Regions from separate parts of the Homo sapiens genome. Here all the other regions are linked to region 3. Evidence: promoter capture Hi-C in 16 types of primary human blood cells and fetal thymus (Javierre and others, 2016). All regions are on one chromosome and are shown on one strand. The core of a region is centred on a gene start or on the middle of the fragment in contact, and the rest is flanking DNA. Distances in the headings are between cores, read along the strand shown.

Region 1 (2,700 bases), core at 158-2,657, 230 kb after region 3:
GGGTGAGACTGGAGACTATTATTCTAAGTGAAATATCTCAGCAATGGAAAACCAAACATTGTATGTTCTCACCCATATGTGGGACCTAAGCTATGAGGATGCAAAGGCATAAGAATGATACAATGGACTTTGGGAACTTGTGGGGAAGGGTGGTGGGGGAGGGATAAAAGACTACAAATAGGGTGCAATGTGTACTGCTCAGGTGATGGGTACACCAAAATCTCACAAATCACCACTAAAAAACTTACTCATGTAACCAAACACCACCTGTACCCTCAATAACCTATGGAAAAATAAAAAGTAAAAAAGAATGTATATTAAAATGTTAATTATAAAATTTAGATGTGATTATCTGGGTATTCACTATAAAATTCTGTTAACTTTGCTGTATGTTGGAAACTTTTCATTTTCAAATGAAATGAATGCTGAATACATGAGTCAATATTTAAAAATTATAAGAGAATATTATGAGAAACAAAATACTAATTAAATTAGATGAAAAATAGTGATGAAAATTACAAATCACCAAAATTGATTCACTAACAAAATATAAAACACAAGTGTACAATAATCATCAAAGGAATTAAATTAGAAATAAAAAATTTTCTCAACAAGACAAGAAATCCTTAAAATGTCAAAGATGAGTTTTATAAAAACCTTCGAGAAAGTGATCATCTCTTCTTTAAGCAAATATTTTAAGAAAATACAAAGATGAATGAAAGCATATTATTGATATCAGTATTGGATGTCTAGAATAGGCAAATCTATATACATAAAAAGTAGTTTAGTGGAATTCTAGGGCCAAGAATGGGGATGGGATTGGAGAGTGACTACCCATAGGTGTGAGATTTCTTTGGGGATGACAAAATGTCCTGAGATTGGTGGTAGTGATGGGTGCAAAACTCTGTAAATATGCTAGAAACCATTGACTTGTGCACTTTGAATGGCTGAATATTGTGATGTATAAATTATAATCTCAATAAAGTTCTTAAAAAGAAAAGATGGAGTGAATGCAATAAAAAAATTATAGTATCTCACTTATAAATACAAATAGGAAATTCCTAAGTTAAATACTGGTAAAAGTTAATTAAGTTTTTAATACTCTACCTAAGTAGGCTGATTCCAGGAATGCAACAATTCTTCAAAAACAGAACATGCACTGATACAATTTGTTATTAACAAATTAAATGACAAAAACCATATAACCATTTCAATGAATTTATTTTTTTCCAAAATGTTTTTATTGCATGCCTATTGTGTGACAGACACTATACAGTACTGAACAAAAGAGAAACAACCGTAGTCCTCAATAGAAGCAGAAAAAGCTTGTGATAAAATCTCACACCAATTCTTAGCAAAATATGTTTAGAAAAGAACTCTCCTTTCAATATAATCCATAGGTTCAGAAAACACAAACAAAAAAGAACTCTCTTAATAACTTAAAGATATTCATCAAAAATAGAACATCATCCTTAATGCTGAAACATGAGAAGCTTTCTCATTGATCCTAACAGAAAGATATCTATACTGGAGGTCCTGGCTGCTGCATGAACTTTAAAAATGAGATATATAAAAATTGCATACAGCCAGGCACACTGGCTCATGCCTGTAATCCCAGCACTTTGGAAGGCCAAGGTGGGCTGATCACCTGAGATCAGGAGTTCAAGTCCAGCCTGGCCAACATGGAGAAATCCCATCTCTACTAAAAGTACAAAATTAGCCAGGCGTGGTGGTACATGCCTGTAACCCCAGCTACTGGGGAGCCTGAGGCAGGAAAATCGCTTGAACTCAGGAGGTGGAGGTTGCAGTGAGCCCAGATCACACCATTGCACTGCAGCCTGGGCAACAAGAGTGAAACTTTTTCTACAAAAAAAAAAAAAGCATATAAAAAATCTTACCCTAATTTAAGATAAAATAATTAAAATGTAATGTTAAAATCCAATAGTATGTATAAACAAGACAGTAGTACTAGAAAGATAGTTCAACAAACTTGACAGATACAAGATCAATGTACAAAATACCACAACGTTCCTATACATCAGAAATAACCAAGTAGTAAATATATCTGAATTTTTAATTCACAATAGGAACAAAAAATAGATGGTATCTGGTAATATATCTGGCAAAATTTATGTGTGACCTTTATCAAAATACCTGTCACCAATGGCAACAGCAGATCAGCCTTGGTGAATGAAAGAAAATGTTGCCGTTTGCATAACCACCACCTTGCTCAGCCACGGCTACAGTGCTTGTGCGTTCATGGACCAGAACTAGGCTCACCAGGAAGGAAAGACTGACCTTTGCATGATAGGCGATTCTATTCAAAAAACTATTTTGAACTGCCTTAGCAGTGGGATCCCTCTGGTGAGAACTTATCCTAAATGGATTCTCCATTTCTTGACTCACAACTTACACATTCAAAGTACAGTTACTGTGCAACAAGCTTTTTTTTGGGGGGGGGGGGGGCAGGATCTTGCTCTGTTGCCCAGGCTGGAGTGCAGTGGCTCAATCTCGGCTCACTGCAAGCTCCGCCACCCAGGTTCACACCATTCTCCTGCCTCAGCCTCCTGAGTAGCTGGGACTACAGGCACCCACCACCACCCCTGGCTAATTTTTTGTATTTTTAGTAGAGACGGGGTTTCACCATGTTAGCCAGGATGGTCTTGATCTCTTGACCTTGTGATCTGCCCACCTTGGCCT
Region 2 (2,700 bases), core at 102-2,601, 140 kb after region 3:
CCACTGGGGTTCAGGAGAACGGCAGCCCTGGCAGTGACTCCTGGTAGCACCGGCTGATAGACTTGACCATAGCTGTAGTGGAAACAGATTTCAAAAGACAGATGTTCCTCTGTCCCAGCTGTTCCGGGGACTTTGTCCCTGGTGGGTGAGCAGGTGCCTGTCCAGGTGATGTTTTCGGCCAAAGCTCTTCTCACAGCGAGGGCACTGGAAGGGCTTCTCCCCAGTGTGGGTCAGCCAGTGTCTCACAAGGTGGTGCCTTCGGCCAAAGCTCTTCCCACATTCAGTGCACACGTGACACTTTGGCACTGGTGGGGCACGCTGCCGTTTCCTTGTGCCAGGGCTCTCTCCAACCTCTTGGCCTTTGCAGGATTTGCCTTCTGCATGCACTCTCTGGTGGCTGGCCAGATGGGAGTTGCATCGGAAATTCTTACCACACTCAGAGCACCTGCTGGTCTTGTCATGTAGGTGGGTTTTCTGGTGCCTGATGAGGTGATGTCTTCGCCCAAAGGTCTTCTCACACTTGAGGCAGCTGTAGGGTCTCTCCCCAGTGTGTGTTTGTTGATGCCTGGCAAGGTGGGAACCCCATACAAACTGTTTCCCACACTGGGGGCATGTGTGGGGTCTTAACAGGGAATCCATCTCTGTGCTACACAGCAGGTTTGAGAAACTATCTTCCTGAAGAAAAGGGGGCCCCAGGAGCATTCCTCTGGAGCTGCTGGGCATGGAATCCCAGCTCTCATCATGCTCCGGGTTCCAGAGAACAGTATCTTCAGACACGCTGGATAACATTCTGGGAGGTTCTGCTTCTAGTTCAGGGGTATCCCCCTCATGTTCACTTCCATCTCCTGCGGAGAAGGGGAAATACCAACCCCAAGAGAAGAGTCACAAGAGAGTGCTTGAGGCCTAAGTCACAAATGAGGTTGTCTGATACCTGCCAGGGCCCAGACTTGACCCCAGAAGGGCTGAGAGAACATAGTCTAATGTCGTACAAGACAGTGCAATAGATATAGAGGTTAAAAGCCTAGGCTTAGGAGGCAGATTACCTAAGATGGAATCTCAGCTTTCCCACTTAACTTCCCTAAACCTTCATTTCTTCTGTAAAATTGGAATAATACCTCTCTCTCCGGCAGTTATAAGATAGATAGCACAGAACCTGCACATAGTTTAAGTACTTAGTAAATTGTATATGTTATTGTTATTATTTATTACCATTATTTATTTACTACTGTATATTACTATTAATCAGCATCTTTCTATCTAAGCATAGATGGAGAGAATTACAGAATGTGCCGCAATTGTCACTGGCTGAATGACACCTGTCGGCAGTCCTCAAGGCATTCCTGAAATGGGTGGGAGGTTGACAACAATATCAACAATAACAACAACTAACATTTATTGAGTGCTTATTATGTGCTTGGCACTGTTCTATTCTAATATTCTAATATATTCATATATTTAATTTTCACAATAATTTACAGATGAAGAAACCAAAGGGAGTTTTATTACTTTTCCAAGGTCCCACAACTACAGCCCAGAATTCAAATCCACAAAGTGCCTGCTACATCATTCTATTACACTCCCTTGCTTTTGAAGAAAAAAATCTCTAAACCTTTTGTCTCTGGAACTCTCTGAGGCAGAGGAGGGATTAAACGAACATGGAATGATGATGTCCCGAACTGTGAAGGAAGTGGCTGAAAGCCTATTCTAGGTTCTTACCTGTATATGTGACCCTCAGAATGTCCCTCTCCTCTAAGTCCTGGGGGTCAGGGACCCATTGTTCTTCTCCTCCTTCTAGTTGAGAAAGCATGTCCAGTTTGGGAATTGGAAATCCTGCTCATGGGAAAGGAAAATAGAGCTGTCAATTAGTTCAACAGCAATTCTATATTTCTGAAAAAAAAATACAAAAAACTGTTTCCTATTGTTTGGAACTCTAGACAAAAGAAGGTCAAGAAAGAAACATATCCCCACCCCAACCTCTTCCCCCACCCATTTCTGTTAAGTCCCTCTTCTCTGCCTAGAAAATCACTCTCCTTCCCAATGAACCTGTTTTCTTCCACTCAGATACTTCCAGCCCAGCTGGCCTTTCTGGGCGTAACTTCACTTTAGTCCTACTACGACAGTCCTACTCCCTGCATCCCTATCTTCCTCTACATGGTTCCCAAGTTTACAAGGACCCAGTTCCAGTTCTCTCTGCTTTATGAGAACCTCCTAATTCCCAACCAAGAAGAACCTCAAGTTCTACTCCACAATTAAGCATCATTTGCTTTTTTACTTTTTTTTTTTTAATGATATTTACTCTCATTCTCTTGGGATTGGCCCTAGTGTTCTTTCTCCAGCGGAAGCATAGACAGATTCCCTGCCACATAAAGAGTCCTAGACAGACACTATCCAATAGCCCTGAAGCAGATGGCTCCGTCCTCCCAGAGTCCAATCTTCTAGTGGCTGGAGAAGGTCATGCTTACTCAGAGAGACTACTATCCCACAGTTTTCCTGCATGACATATTCTCCATAAAAGTCTGTCTGAGAGGGGTCCAGGCTCCGCCACTCCTCCTGAGAGAAGCACAGTGACACATCCTTGATGGTTACCAGGCCCTGAAACAAAATGTAGCATCTTCTGTCAGCAGCTGTTTTTTAAGGAAAATGTGATTCAGTATGAAAGGCTAAGTTAGTAGAGGAGAGAGGGTGAGAAATGATCTGAGA
Region 3 (2,700 bases), core at 139-2,638:
AATTTGAGAAAGAAAAACAGTAAAATGAAGAGCTGAAAAATAAAAGAGTTTATTTCTAAATGTATGTACGAAACTCAGGTTGGGGGACTAGCATGTAAAGGTATATACAAATAAAATGGAGTTAAGTGCACTTATTTATTGAATCCTGTTGTGAGAACTTAAGAGGAAAAGAAACTGAGGAAAAAAACTAAGGAAAATCCGAAATTCTCCCGAGGAAGGTCCAAGAAAAAACAATGTGGAAGTGAAGTCAGAGAGATAACATCAGGACATTGGACATCAGGAGGAACTTTCAGGTCTGATTCTAGTGCCAAGGAAGCCATGAACGCTCTTTCCTGGAGCCTTTCAGCATAGGAGAGTTACTCATCTGCCAGGGCTGGGGATGGGGTAACTCTCCCATTCCCCAGGTGAAGGAGCTTTCCTTTCAGGGCCTTCCTGCTAGACAGACTGTGGCTGGGCCAGCCTGGTTCTTCCAAGTGCCCTCACCATGGCCTCCTTAATTTCCTTGTTGCGGAAACTATAAATGATGGGGTTGCACATGGGGGTAATGATGGTGTACAGGAGGGAGAAAGGTTTGTCTTTGTCAGGCCCATGTGTGCTGTGGGGGTTCATGTAAGAGAACATAGCTGAAGTGTAGAGAAAGATGACCACAGTCAGGTGAGAGGCACAAGTAGAGAAAGTCTTCCCCCGACCTGAGGAGGAGGCTTTGCTGAGGATGGTGGCCAGGATGTGCACATAGGAAGTGACAGTGAGCACCATGGGGCTGAGAATTACCACGATGGCATCGGCAAAGATTGCCCACAGACTAAACTGAGGGTCCCCACAAGAGAGGCCAATCACTATGGGGGCCTCACAGAAGAAGCTTTCTATGTGGTTGTCTCTGCGGAAGGGCTCTCGGAATGAAATATACTCGAGAAAGATGCCATTGATCAGCCCAAAGAACCAGGCAGTTCCCACAAGCCTGACACAGACCTTCTGGCTTATGATCGGGACATAGTTAAGTGGGTAGCAGATAGCAACATAACGGTCATAGGCCATGAAAGCCAAGAGGATGCACTCGGCCACACCAACACAGAAGACAAAGTACATCTGGGTCATGCAACATACAAAGGAGACAATGTGGTCCCTGACCACGAGGTGGATCAACATCTGTGGGATGGTAGTGGTGATGAAGCAGACATCCAGGAGAGACAGATGGCCGAGGAAGAAGTACATGGGGCTGTTGAGCTTGGGGTCTGTCCAGGAGGTGATAAAGATGATGAGGCCATTCATGGCCATGGTGAGGCTGTAGAGGGCCAAGAAGAGGGCAAAGAGCAATGCTCGTGTGGAAGTGGAGCTCTGCTGAAAGCCCACGAGGATAAATTCCGTCACTATGCTGCCATTCCTTAGCATCTGGGGCCTGTTTGAGGAGGAAAGATGATGGGAAAAGCACAAGGGTATAGCTGTGGGGTAATAGAAGGTACCCACTTGGTCCCAGAAGCCCAATTATAAAACAGGATGGATGAATGGTGGTCAACCTTTTGGAACTTAGTAAACTAGTAATTTGGCAGTGTTACGGGGTGGTGAAAATGCCAGGGTCATCACAGGCTGCATACATAGAATCATAATATCAACAGATGAAGAAAGTGCTGGTTGTAATGTTCTTTACTCTGGTTTCATCAGGCATCAAGTGAAGTATTGCATCTGCTCCAGAGCCCTCAATATTGAAGGATTAGCCATTAACCAGGATGTATTCAGAGGTGAAAAAATAAGATAATTGGGTCTGGGACCATGCCAACTGAGGAAAAGTTTTAGGAATTGAAGAATGGAGTGTGTGAGGGAAAGGGCTGGTGGCTATCAGGTTATAGAAGATTGTATTTAGGAAGCACTTGAGATATTTGAAGGTGTATTTTTCTAGAAGCAAAAATGCTCAACCTCTGTGTACCTAATTTAAAATGATGAATGGGTTGAAGTTTCAGGGAAAATAAAAACATTCTAATCCTCACAATTGTCCCTCAGCTAACAGTGATTTGCACCTTTTTGGAGACAGTCATGTCAAGCTCTTCCCAGTCACCCACCTCTTCCCAGACTCACTCGCCCAGCAGTTGCTGCTGCTACCGCAGCCACCCATGCTGTGCATGCTGGAGCTGAGGGCTGGGTGGGGGCTCATGCATGCCTTCCTAATAGGAGATGGTTTTCCTCCTGGGGCTGGAATTTACGGTTACACACAATTGGGTGGAAAGGATCCAACCATCCCTGTGTGAAAAGGGAAGCTATGAGCAGGGCATATATCTAACCTTTCTAGAATGGACCTTCAGAGAACTTTCAACTGTCTCTTTGTCTCTGGCAACAAATCTTGTTCTTTTTCCATTTTCAAAGAATGAGCGGTCACAATTCTTATGCTCTTATCTCTCTATTGTAACTTTTAGGAAGTTGTTATGTTCATATTAAGTCTGTCTTATACTTTTCATGTTGTTTTGGAGCTAAGATGTATCAGATCCCTTCCACCTTCAGATGCTTATACTTTTTTTTTTTTTTTTAAGAATTTATAGAGACAGGTACTCACTATGTCACCTGTGCTGGTCTTGAACTTCTGGCTTTAAGTGATTCTCCTGCCTTGGCCTCCCAAAGTGCTGGGATTACAGATGTGAGCTACTGCACCCATCCTCATCTTCAGATGCTTATAGATGATAAGTATATTCCTGCTTAACTTTCAGTTCTGCC

Evidence for each region. Contacts are between HindIII fragments. The CHiCAGO score rates a contact against its expected background, and 5 or more counts as called.
Region 1: a contact is called between a fragment that was not itself captured here and the fragment with the promoter of OR10AD1 in region 3, in 1 of 17 cell types (naive CD8 T cells). The highest score is 5.5, in naive CD8 T cells.
Region 2: a fragment that was not itself captured here is called in contact with the fragment with the promoter of OR10AD1 in region 3 in 5 of 17 cell types (neutrophils, monocytes, non-activated CD4 T cells and 2 more); the score reaches 9.5 in neutrophils.

Annotation. Positions count from the first base shown.
Region 1 is chr12:48,431,004-48,433,703 of GRCh38, forward strand. It overlaps a transcript of C12orf54 not described here. Among named protein-coding and RNA genes, the nearest start is that of ANP32D, 40 kb to the right of the region's middle. The HindIII fragment of the contact is 168 bases long and covers 1,324-1,491 here.
Region 2 is chr12:48,342,883-48,345,582 of GRCh38, forward strand. ZNF641 (zinc finger protein 641) reads right to left here. Exons shown (of 6, transcript NM_001172681.2): 4 at 2,463-2,592; 5 at 1,717-1,830; 6 at 1-845. The coding sequence ends at 91. Among named protein-coding and RNA genes, the nearest start is that of ZNF641, 6.7 kb to the right of the region's middle. The HindIII fragment of the contact is 4,744 bases long and covers 1-2,700 here.
Region 3 is chr12:48,201,904-48,204,603 of GRCh38, forward strand. OR10AD1 (olfactory receptor family 10 subfamily AD member 1) reads right to left here and starts at 1,389. Exons shown (of 1, transcript NM_001004134.1): 1 at 436-1,389. The coding sequence starts at 1,389. The coding sequence ends at 436. All of the region lies in intron 1 of LOC102725258 (a long non-coding RNA gene), which reads left to right. The HindIII fragment of the contact is 3,232 bases long and covers 858-2,700 here.